2 separate regions of the Homo sapiens genome follow, and region 2 is linked to region 1. Evidence: promoter capture Hi-C in 16 types of primary human blood cells and fetal thymus (Javierre and others, 2016). All regions are on one chromosome and are shown on one strand. The core of a region is centred on a gene start or on the middle of the fragment in contact, and the rest is flanking DNA. Distances in the headings are between cores, read along the strand shown. Region 1 holds the start of CLEC12A-AS1 (CLEC12A antisense RNA 1). Region 2 overlaps KLRF1 (killer cell lectin like receptor F1).

Region 1 (5,311 bases), core at 2,795-5,294:
ATACTGTGCTAGACTGGACCTATTAATTTCTGACATGAGACTGCTCTTTTTACTTCAAGGAACCATAAAAGCCTTGGGATTGACTCCAGCCTACCCAGATGTAGGGATTTCTAAGTCTCAGAGAGAGCTTAGTGGAAAAGTAAAGTTAATTCTGTGTGTACATACAAAAGTGCGTTTCTTTCCAACCACAAGATTCACCTGTTTCTCTGTTCTCTGATCCCTGTGTATGCATTCTTCCCATTTTCATGAGTGCATCTGAGGGCTGTGGGTTAGTGATTTTCCTTGACCATAAATCCAGTAATTTTGTTTCCTGTTGAGTGGAAGGAAAGAAAGGCAGAACCTTAAGAAATATTTCATTCATACAAAATTACTTTTTAAATAAATATACAATGTTTTCTGGAACCTCGTGATTGTGTTGGATTTTTTTTTCCTATTTATTTCATTAACCATTTCATAAGGAAAGGTTTCCTCTGACTCTTTAGAATGGACAGCTTCTTTTAAACCTTTAAATCATTGCATCTGCCTGTAATTATTTCCATTTTTCTAGCATTGGATTTTGAGATGAGTTACTTCAGAATGAGTATTTAAATGTTTTAGACAAAAGTAGATAAAAAAATCTGTATCATTGTCACATTTTTTGAGATTTAGAAGCCAACTTGAGTTGCAGTAACCAAAAATGTGGTCTGGCAAAGCCCACAGTCCCTGGTGGGTTACGATCTGAAGATGGTCTGAAGCTGAGTTGGTTGTCTGGCAGCATTCCCTTGACTGGCCTCACTTCCAGGCACTCCTGCACAGAGCTGTGGGGTGTTCATTCCCCATCAAATCTCCTGTTGCCCTGAAAAATTTAAAGAGGCAGAGAAAGTGACAACTAGACCTAGCATTTTGGTGTATAAGTGCATATATTTCAGTTTTTTTGTTATTGTTGTTACGGCAGTCTGAATTTAGAACTTTGTGCTAACAACAGGTTACAGCAACCCTAGAGTCCATCAATGGGTGGAATAAAAATATGTCATATATACATACAATGGAATATTATTCAGCCTTAAAAAGGAAGGACATTCTGACACAAGCTACAACATAAATAACCATCGAAGGCATTATGAAGCTTCTTTTACTAGCAAAGTTACTTTCCAGAAACCTTAGTAGCTGCGATCTTGCTTCAGTCCATAAGCTTTCTGTGACTTGACTTAGAGTAGCAGGCAATTAGTCCATAAAAGAAACATAATGAATATCCTGATGCCTCTCAACCATCTGGAAAATATTAACCGGGCACCGAAATACTTGATAAATGCTGTGAAAAACATGGGATTGGGTGGTGAATAGGTTGACTGACAAGGTATGTAGAAGAGTGGGGAGAGTGTACTTTAGGGTGGGTGGTGAGACTAAGTCACTCTTCTCATTAAAAGAATGTGTGCTGCCTGTACAAATTTGTCTTCATCTTTTTCAGCCAATCCACTCCAATGGGCTTATGGATATGCTGGCCATATTAACAAATTAAGACACAAGATTTCCAGTTAAATTTGAATTTCAATCGACCACAGATAATTGCAGAGACAGCAAATACAAATATTGATGAGCAATACTTACATTAAAAATAAGTCATTTTTACCTGAAATTCAAATTCTGTTTTCCCACACATAGCTACATTATTTCCTGCACGTAGCTACATCCCTCCTCTGCTATGTAAACCCCCAATTTCAGTCACTTGGGGAGATGAATTTGAGACTGATCTGCAGTTCTTCTCAGCTGCAGCAACTGAATAAAGTCATCTCCCCTGGAAATACTTGCCTCAGTGATTGGCATTCTGTGCAATGAGTAACGGGACCTAGGCTGAACCTCTGGCATTTCAGTAACAGATTTTGGTTCCCTCATCAGGAAGACATTGCTCTTGGCTTGGCTGTCACCAGTTGGGAGAATTTCCGCAACCCTAAGCAGCAGCCTATGTGTTTTAGGCAGGATGTGGGTTTTAGTCTTTCTATTTAGCATTGCTGCTGCCAGCCCCAACCACATTTCTGATTGCCTAGGAAGAACAGCCTTTCAAATTTGACTTCTGCATGTGGATAGGTGAGTGTCTTTTGTGGATACCGACAGTGGGAATGGCTCCTCTCAATTTGAGAAATTCTGAAGGAATTTCCATTGGCAAGTTCAGCAAGGCCAACTGACGGAGAGAGGAAGCACCCTGACTGTTCCAGTTCAGACACTCTTGGGGCTTGTTAGTAATTGAGTATGTGTCTGGATAAGTGAGTGTCATTTGTGGGTCCAGACAGCAGGATCTGCTTTTCTCAATTTGAGAAATTCCGAAGGAATCTCCATTTGCAGATTGAACTAGCCCAACAAACAGGGAGAAAGCAACTCAACTGTTTCAGTTTGGACTCTCTTGGGACTTGCTTATTGTTGCAGCAGTTAGATTGTATTCTGGTGGTTGTTTGTGTGTTGATGTAGTTGTGGGAGATCAGGGTTTGATCTGAGTGCAGACCGCTTGGGTGTATTCTTCAGGGTTGGTCTGCATGTGGCTGTGGGCCAGTGGAGTGAGGGAACATCTCTACCCGTATCACGCTGAACATGCCCAATCTCATCTGATCTCAGACAGTCTTTGAATTGTAGCACTGCCTTATATTTGGATTTATTTTGCTGTTGAATGTGAATATGGGATGGAAGTCCATGTCTCCAGGCTTCTATGCTGCTGCTCTAAGGACAGGCAGGCCTGATTAGTATGTGCTGCTGTTTGGCTACAGAGTTCTTTGGAGTCTGGAGAGATTTGGCCTTTAAAAATCAAACTGTCAGACCCTGTCTCAAGGAAAAAAAAAAAAACAGGATGTGAGCGCTCTCCCTCTCCCTCTCCCTCTCCCTCTCCGTCTCCCTCTCCCTCTCCCTCTCCGTCTCCCTCTCCCTCTCCCTCTCCGTCTCCCTCTCCCTCTCCCCACGGTCTCCCTCTCATGTGGAGCCGAAGCTGGACTGTACTGCTGCCATCTCGGCTCACTGCAACCTCCCTGCCTGATTCTCCTGCCTCAGCCTGCCGAGTGCCTGCGATTGCAGGCACGCACCACCACGCCTGACTGGTTTTGGTGGAGACGGGGTTTCGCTGTGTTGGCCGGGCCGGTCTCCAGCCCCTAACCGCGAGTGATCCGCCAGCCTTGGCCTCCCGAGGTGCCGGGATTGCAGACGGAGTCTCGTTCACTCAGTGCTCAATGGTGCCCAGGCTGGAGTGCAGTGGCGTGATCTCGGCTCACTACAACCTACACCTCCCAGCAACCTGCCTTGGCCTCCCAAAGTGCCGAGATTGCAGCCTCTGCCCGGCCGCCACCCCGTCTGGGAAGTGAGGAGTGTCTCCGCCTGGCCACCCATCGTCTGGGATGTGAGGAGCCCCTCTGCCTGGCTGCCCAGTCTGGAAAGTGAGGAGCGTCTCCGCCCGGCCGCCATCCCATCTAGGAAGTGAGGAGCGCCTCTTCCCAGCCGCCATCACATCTAGGAAGTGAGGAGCGTCTCTGCCCGGCCGCCCATCGTCTGAGATGTGGGGAGCGCCTCTGCCCCGCCGCCCCATCTGGGATGTGAGGAGCGCCTCTGCCCGGCCGAGACCCCGTCTGGGAGGTGAGGAGCGTCTCTGCCCGGCCGCCCCGTCTGAGAAGTGAGGAGACCCTCTGCCTGGCAACCACCCCGTCTGAGAAGTGAGGAGCCCCTCCGCCCGGCAGCCGCCCCGTCTGAGAAGTGAGGAGCCTCTCCGCCCGGCAGCCACCCCATCTGGGAAGTGAGGAGCGTCTCCGCCCAGCAGCCACCCCGTCCGGGAGGGAGGTGGGGGGGGTTAGCCCTCCGCCCGGCCAGCCGCCCCATCCGGGAGGGAGGTGGGGGGTCAGCCCCCCGCCTGGCCAGCCATGCCGTCCGGGAGGGAGGTGGGGGGGTCAGCCCCCTGCCCGGCCAGCCGCCCCGTCCAGGAGGTGAGGGGCGCCTCTGCCCGCCCCCCCCTACTGGGAAGTGAGGAGCCCCTCAGCCCGGCCAGCCACCCCGTCTGGGACGGAGATGGGGGGTCAGCCCCCCCGCCCAGCCAGCTGCCCCGTCCGGGAGGGAGGTGGGGGGGTCAGCCCCCCGCCTGGCCAGCCGCCCCGTCCGGGAGGGAGGTGGGGGGGTCAGCCCCCCGCCTGGCCAGCCGCCCCGTCCGGGAGGGAGGTGGGGGGGGTCAGCCCCCCCGCCCAGCCAGCCGCCCCGTCCGGGAGGTGAGGGGCGCCTCTGCCCGGCCGCCCCCTACTGGGAAGTGAGGAGCCCCTCTGCCTGGCCAGCCGCCCCGTCCGGGAGGGAGGTGGGGGGGTCAGCCCCCTGCCCGGCCAGCCGCCCCGTCCGGGAGGTGAGGGGCGCCTCTGCCCGGCCGCCCCTACTGGGAAGTGAGGAGCCCCTCTGCCCGGCCACCACCCCGTCTGGGAGGTGTGCCCAGCAGCTCATTGAGAACGGGCCAGGATGACAATGGCGGCTTTGTGGAATAGAAAGGCGGGAAAGGTGGGGAAAAGATTGAGAAATGGGATGGTTGCCGTGTCTGTGTAGAAAGAAGTAGACATGGGAGACTTTTCATTTTGTTCTGCACTAAGAAAGATTCTTCTGCCTTGGGATCCTGTTGATCTGTGACCTTACCCCCAACCCTGTGCTCTCTGAAACATGTGCTGTGTCCACTCAGGGTTAAATGGATTAAGGGCGGTGCAAGATGTGCTTTGTTAAACAGATGCTTGAAGGCAGCATGCTCGTTAAGAGTCATCACCAATCCCTAATCTCAAGTAATCAGGGACACAAACACTGCGGAAGGCCGCAGGGTCCTCTGCCTAGGAAAACCAGAGACCTTTGTTCACTTGTTTATCTGCTGACCTTCCCTCCACTATTGTCCCATGACCCTGCCAAATCCCCTCTGTGAGAAACACCCAAGAATTATCAATAAAAAAAAAAAAAAAAAAAAAAAAAAAATCAAACTGTCAGCTGGGCGCAAGAAACTGAGGTGGGCAGATACTTGAGCCCAGGAGTTCGAGACCAGCCTGGGCAACATGGTGAAACCCTGTCTCTACAAAAAATACAAATATTAGCTGGGTGTAATGGTGCATACCTGTAGTCCCAGCTACTCAGGAGGCTGAGGTGGGAGGATTACCTGAGCCTGGGAGGTTGAGGCTGCAGTGAGCCTTGATCACACCACTGCACTTCCAGCCTGGGTGACGGAGATCCTGTCTCAAAAAAAAAAATAATCAAACTATCATGGAAACTGCTTTATTCAAAATTTTGTTTCACAACCTTTATTGGATTACCTATCAGAACAAATAAAGTTCAACCATGTGAACATGTT
Region 2 (6,908 bases), core at 1,852-4,351, 110 kb before region 1:
TACTGGGTGCTACTTGGATGTTGAAATAATCTCTACATCAAACCCCCATGACACAAATTTACCTATGTAACAAACCTGCACGTATACCCCTGAACTTAAAAGTTAAAAAAAACCTTTGTGTGGATAAATTCTAAGTGATACAAATTATATTTTATCTAATCTCTCAAATAGCTATTTTATTTTGTTCATGCTATTTTAGTCAATATAATAGATCTTGCATCAAAAATCCCATTATGTCTAGGTTTTGCTTCATCTCATTAAATTAATTGTCTTAATTCCCAAGGACCATTATTTGTGTTTTGGCCATCTTTTGTGTCTGGACAATTTGCTATAAGTGATTTTATTGTAGCTCAACTCTTATTTATACAACATGTAAGTATTGTTCTTATGGCCAATTTTCAGAGATGCATATGTAATTTAATTTCATTTTGTTTTCTACATTTCTCTGTAGTACTATGCCAATCAGAATGGCTCAAATACCAAGGGAAGTGTTATTGGTTCTCTAATGAGATGAAAAGCTGGAGTGACAGTTATGTGTATTGTTTGGAAAGAAAATCTCATCTACTAATCATACATGACCAACTTGAAATGGTAATTGGTCTAGTATCAGGGTTATGGCATCTTTGCAGTAAAAAATGGCTTTCCTCAAATATCTTTCCATCTTTGCATTAAATCATCATTTACCTTGATTATCGAGTTTTGGGCACCCTCTTAAATTTTGTATTCCAAGTGAGTGCCTCACTTCTCATGCTAGATCTGGCCCAAATTCATATATTCAACTTGCAATTGTGTGTGTGTGTGTGTAACATATATATGATATAATGTGTGTATAAGTAAGATATGAATTGATTACCATAAGAATCCCTATGCAGAGTGCTTTTTTGCAATAACATTTAAAATATTCAGTGTGTCTGAATTGCTAAAATATTTTGTTCATTTAGTCCCTCGTCCACATTTTAGGCTTTTATACAGAAAAACCTAAGACAATTAAACTACGTATGGATTGGGCTTAACTTTACCTCCTTGAAAATGACATGGACTTGGGTGGATGGTTCTCCAATAGATTCAAAGATGTGAGTCTTTCTTAAAAGGCAATCTGATTTATTGTTTATTGTAGAATATGTCTCCTCCAGGTTCACCAAATTCAACTCTGAAATAGTTACTGGTACTACAGAATTCAAAAGAATGAAAATTAATTTAGTATTTACAGGAGTAATGATGGATAGTTTGATTTGACTTTTAAAGAAAAAGGATTTGAAAATGGTGGTTTATGATTTTAAAATTTCTCACACTTTATATAGAAAAGTAGATTGAATGAATGCAGTCTCTTATTTTTAAAGGTCTCAATGTTTTCTTTAGCCATCTTCAGTAATAAAATAAAACCAATGTGCATTTTTTGTGTTATGTGATTATCATAGTGTCAAAATACAAATGGTATATACAACATAGAACAAGATTATCCAAAAGTCTCTGAACAAATGCATGGAATTATTGATTTTAAAAGTTCTGTCAACATTTTTGTGCGCATTATTTTATAATAAAATATTTAATTAAAAATATAAACAGTAAAACAGATAAATTCAAAATCCTATTCCTATGTTAGCAGGCAAGATAATGGTCCCCAAAGATGTCCACATTCTAATTCCAAAATGCTGTGAATGTGTTATTTTATATGGCAAAAGAGCCTTTGCAGGTATGATTAAATGAGGAATCTCGAGATAGGGATATTATCCTGGATTATCTGGGTGGCCCCAATTAAATCACAAGGGTCCTTAGAAGAGGGAGGAAGCAGAATTAGAGTCATATTGGGAGATATGAAGTGGAACACAGAGATTCATATGATGTGAAATCACGTCTGTGAGCCAAGGCACGCAGGTGGCCTCGGATTCCTGCCTAGTACATCCAGAAGGTGACTCTGCAGACGTTTTGATCTTAGCCCTGTAGGGCAATCTTGGGCTTCTGATACTCATAGGTGTAAGATAATAAATTAGCCTTGTTTTAGGCCACTACATTTGTGATAATTTGTCATAGTAGTGATAGAAAAATAGTACATTATAGTAACCAACTTAATGGTGTTATTGTATTATTTTCCCCTTATTTCTATTCATCATTAAATATTACATATTTTCTATCTGACTGCACTAAATCAATATAAAAAGTGAATAAAAAACATTATTTGGAATGCAGTGTAAAATTATGGATGTGTGTCATCTGAGAGCAGAGTTGTGTCACTGAACGTCATGAAGTTGCCCAACTTGGTTTTGTCTTCATTCCAAATCCATTCATCACTACCCGTTAGGGTTGAGTTTTAAGTCTAGATCATGCTTGGAGATTTTTGTCCATAATATGTTCAATACAAAATTTAAAACTAAACTCGGACAAAGTGTATTTTCTAATATGAAAATTCAGTACTTACTTGCCCTTATCAATTTGGAAGCTTTGAAGATCATGTGCACCTTTTCCAAGATTCTTTCTTGAACTTTTTCCACAGGTCAAACAAATTTATCAGAATGTATCACTAACACTACATTATTTTATACATAAATTTGTTAATATTTTTAATATGTTACATTATAAGTAAATAATGCAATAAATATGCAATTTATTATTTAGGTCATGCACAGTTCGTTTTGTGTATTGAGTTCTTTACAAACCTCAATTCATATAACTGCTAAACAATATCATGAAGTATTATTATCGTTCTTATACAATTAGATATAAGAAGGCAAGAGAGGTTGTTAAGTGAGGTGTCCACATGGAGTTAATCTTATTTTTAATCTAACTGAACTACATGGGGCAAGAGGAGGAATACTAGAATGGGAATGTGGAGGGAAATTTATTCTTACTTCTGTTAGTTGCAGACTCTCTGGCAACTCTTGACCAACCACAGCTAACAAGGCTAAGTTACAGTTACTGTAATCGTTAGTGAATCCAAGTATGTAAAAATGCTTTGAGATTTTGAATTACTTTTTTATTTAAAAGAGGATATTAGCAGAAGACACAAATGGATGTCTTCAGCTACAGTGATTAACAAAGTATTTATTCTCTCTTCCCTAGATTCTTCATAAAGGGACCAGCTAAAGAAAACAGCTGTGCTGCCATTAAGGAAAGCAAAATTTTCTCTGAAACCTGCAGCAGTGTTTTCAAATGGATTTGTCAGTATTAGAGTTTGACAAAATTCACAGTGAAATAATCAATGATCACTATTTTTGGCCTATTAGTTTCTAATATTAATCTCCAGGTGTAAGATTTTAAAGTGCAATTAAATGCCAAAATCTCTTCTCCCTTCTCCCTCCATCATCGACACTGGTCTAGCCTCAGAGTAACCCCTGTTAACAAACTAAAATGTACACTTCAAAATTTTTACGTGATAGTATAAACCAATGTGACTTCATGTGATCATATCCAGGATTTTTATTCGTCGCTTATTTTATGCCAAATGTGATCAAATTATGCCTGTTTTTCTGTATCTTGCGTTTTAAATTCTTAATAAGGTCCTAAACAAAATTTCTTATATTTCTAATGGTTGAATTATAATGTGGGTTTATACATTTTTTACCCTTTTGTCAAAGAGAATTAACTTTGTTTCCAGGCTTTTGCTACTCTTCACTCAGCTACAATAAACATCCTGAATGTTTTCTTAAATAGTAGCACCTTTATTTCTATGATAGAAGCCCTAAAAGTAGTATTTCTAGGTAAAAGTGTTAAATGTGTTGTTTTATATTTTATACAATTTTTATATGTTGCACTTTTCTTTCCAAATTTAGAAGCTTTCAAACTTATAAGAAGATATTAGGTGCAGAAAAAGAATATACTTATTTCCTTGAGCAGTGGTTTGTAATTCTCCTTGAAGAGGTCCTTCACATCCCTTGTAAGTTGGATTCCTAGGTATTTTATTCTCTTCGTAGCAATTGTGAATGGGAGTTCACTCATGATTTGGCTCTCTGTTTGTCTGTTATTGGTGTATAGGAATGCTTGTGATTTTTGCACCCTGATTTTTTACCCTGAGACTTTGCTGAAGTTGCTTATCAGCTTAAGGAGATTTTGGGCTGAGATGATAGTGTTTTCTAAATATACAATCATGTCATCTGCAAACAGGGACAATTTGACTTACTATCTTACTATTTGAATATCCTTTTATTGCTTTCTCTTGCCTGATTGCCCTGGCCAGAACTTCCAATACTTAGTTGAATAGGAGTGGTGAGAGAGGGCATCCTTGTCTTGTGCCGGTTTTCAAACGGAATGCTTCCAGTTTTTGCCCATTCAGTATGATATTGGCTGTGGGTTTATCATACATAGCTCTTACTATTTTGAGATACGTTCCATCAATACCTAGTTTATTGAGAGTTTTTAGCATGAAGTGGTGTTGAATTTTGTTGAGGGCCTTTTCTGCATCTATTGAGATAATCATGTGGTTTTTGTCATTGGTTCTGTTTATGTGACGGATTACATTTATTGACTTGCCTATGTTGAACCAACCTTGCATCCCAGGGATGAAGCTGTCTTGATTGTGACGGATAAGCTTTTTGATGTGCTGCTGGATTCTGTCTGACAGTATTTTATTGAAGATTTTCACTTCGATGTTCTTCAGGGATATTGGCCTGAAATTTCGTTTTTTGTTGTGTCTCTGTCAGGTCTTGGTATCAGGATGATGCTGGCCTCATAAAAGGAGTTAGGGAGGATTCCCTCTTTTTCTATTGTTTGGAATAGTTTCAGAAGGAATAGTACCAGCTCCTCTTTGTACCTCTGGTAGAATTCAGCTGTGAATCCATCTGGTCCTGGGCTTTTTTCAGTTGTTAGGCTATTAAATACTGCCTTAATTTCAGAACTTGTTATTGGTCTATTCAGGGATTTGACTTCTTCCTAGTTTAGTCTTGGGAGGGTGTATGTGTCTAGGAATTTATCCATTTCTTCTAGATTTTCTAGTTTATTTGCATAGAGGTGTTTATAGCATTCTCTGATGGTAGTTTGTATTACTGAGGGATCAGTGGTGGTATCCCCTTTACCATTTTTTATTGCATCTATTTGATTCTTCTCTCTTTTCTTCTTTATTAGTCTTGCTAGCGGTCTATCTGTTCTGTTGATCTTTTCAAAAACCAGCGGCTGGATTCATTGATTTTTTGAAGGGTTTTTCGTGTCTCCATCTCCTTCAGTTCTGCTCTGATCTTAGTTATTTCTTGCCTTCTGCTAGCTTTTGAATGTGTTTGCTCTTGCTTCTCTAGTTCTTTTAATTGTGATGTTAGGCTGTCGATTTTAGATCTTTCCTGCTTTCCCTTGTGGGCATTTAGTGCTATAAATTTCCCTCTACACACTGCTTTAAATGTGTCCCAGACATTCTGGTATGTTGTATCTTTGTTCTCATTGGTTTCAAGGAACATCTTTATTTCTGCCTTCATTTTGTCATGTACCCGGTAGTCATTCAGGAGCAGGTTGGTCAGTTTCCGTGTAGTTGTGCAGTTTTGAGTGGGTTTCTTGTTCCTGAGTTCTAATTTGATTGCACTGTGGTCTGAGTGACTGTTTGTTATGATTTCAGTTCTTTTGCATTTGTTGAGGGGTGTTTTACTTCCAATTATGTTGTCAATTTTAGAATAAGTGCCATGTGGAGCTGAGAAGAATGTATATTCTGTTGATTTGAGGTGGAGAGTTCTGTAGATGTCTGTTAGGTTCGCTTGGTCTAGAGCTGAGTTCAAGTCCTGGATATCCTTGTTAATTTTCTGTCTTGTTGATCTTTCTAATATTGACAGTGGGGTGTTAAAGTCTCCTGCTATTATTGTGTGGGAGTCTCTTTGTAGGTCTCTAAGGACTTGCTTTATGAATCTGGGTGCTCCTGTATTGGGTGCATATATATTTAGGATAGTTAGCTCTTCCTGTTGCATTGATCCCTTTACCATTATGTAATGCCCTTCTTTGTCTCTTTCTATCTTTGTTGGTTTAAAGTCTGTTTTATCAGAGACTAGGTTTGCAACCCCTGCTTTATTTTATTTTATTTTATTTACTTATTTATTTATTTTTGCTTTCCATTTGCTTGGGAAATATTTCTCCATCACTTTATTTTGAGTCTATGTGTGTCTTTGCACATTCAATGGGTCTCCTGAATACAGCACACCAATGGTTCTTGACTCTTTATCCAATTTGCCAGTCTGTGTCTTTTAATTGGGGCATTTTGCCCATTTACATTTAAGATTAATATCATTATATGTGAATTTGATCCAGCCATTATGATGCTAACTGGTTATTTTGCCCATTAGTTGGTGCAATATCTTCATAGCGATGATGGTTTTTGCAATTTGGCATGTTTTTGCAGTGGTTGGTATGGGTTGTTCCTTTTCATGTTTAGTGCTTCCCTCAGGAGCTCTTGTAAGGCAGGCCTGGTGGTGACAAAATCTCTCAGCATTTGCTTGTCTGTAAAGGATTTTATTTCTCTTTCACTTATGAAGCTTAGTTTGGCTGGCTATGAAATTCTGGGTTGAAAATTCTTTTCTTTAAAAATGTTGCATATTGGCCCCCACTACTCTTCTGGTTTGTAGGGTTTCTGCTGAGGGATCCACTGTTAGTCTGATGAGCTTTTCTTTGTGGGTAACCTGACCTTCCTCTCTGGCTTCCCGTAACATTTTGTCCTTCGTTTCAACCTTGGTGAATCTTATGATTATGTGTCTTGGGGTTGCTCTTCTCGAGGAGTATCTTTGTGGTGTTCTCTGTATTTCCTGAATTTGAATGTTGGCCTGCCTTGATAGGTTGGGGAAATTCTCCTGGACAATATCCTGAAGAGTGTTTTCCAATTAGGTTCCGTTCTCCTCGTCACTTTCAGGTACATAAATCAAACATAGGTTCGGTCTTTTCATGTAGTCCCATATTTCTTGGATGCTTTGTTAGTTTCTTTTCACTCTTTTTTCTCTAATCTTGTCTTC

What was found. The method cuts DNA at HindIII sites, captures the fragments that hold promoters and counts their contacts. A CHiCAGO score of 5 or more calls a contact.
Region 2: a fragment that was not itself captured here is called in contact with the fragment with the promoter of CLEC12A-AS1 in region 1 in 1 of 17 cell types (neutrophils); the score reaches 6.2 in neutrophils.

What each region holds. Positions count from the first base shown.
Region 1 is chr12:9,949,293-9,954,603 of GRCh38, forward strand. It overlaps CLEC12A-AS1 (CLEC12A antisense RNA 1), which reads right to left and starts at 4,045. Exons shown (of 3, transcript NR_135047.1): 1 at 3,258-4,045; 2 at 1,610-2,787; 3 at 1-835. It overlaps LOC124902874 (a long non-coding RNA gene), which reads left to right and starts at 2,365. Exons shown (of 2, transcript XR_007063207.1): 1 at 2,365-3,745. It also overlaps a transcript of CLEC12A not described here. The HindIII fragment of the contact is 17,088 bases long and covers 1,170-5,311 here.
Region 2 is chr12:9,841,361-9,848,268 of GRCh38, forward strand. It overlaps KLRF1 (killer cell lectin like receptor F1), which reads left to right. Exons shown (of 6, transcript NM_016523.3): 4 at 452-591; 5 at 961-1,073; 6 at 3,058-3,645. The coding sequence ends at 3,166. Among named protein-coding and RNA genes, the nearest start is that of KLRF1, 17 kb to the left of the region's middle. The HindIII fragment of the contact is 1,333 bases long and covers 2,436-3,768 here.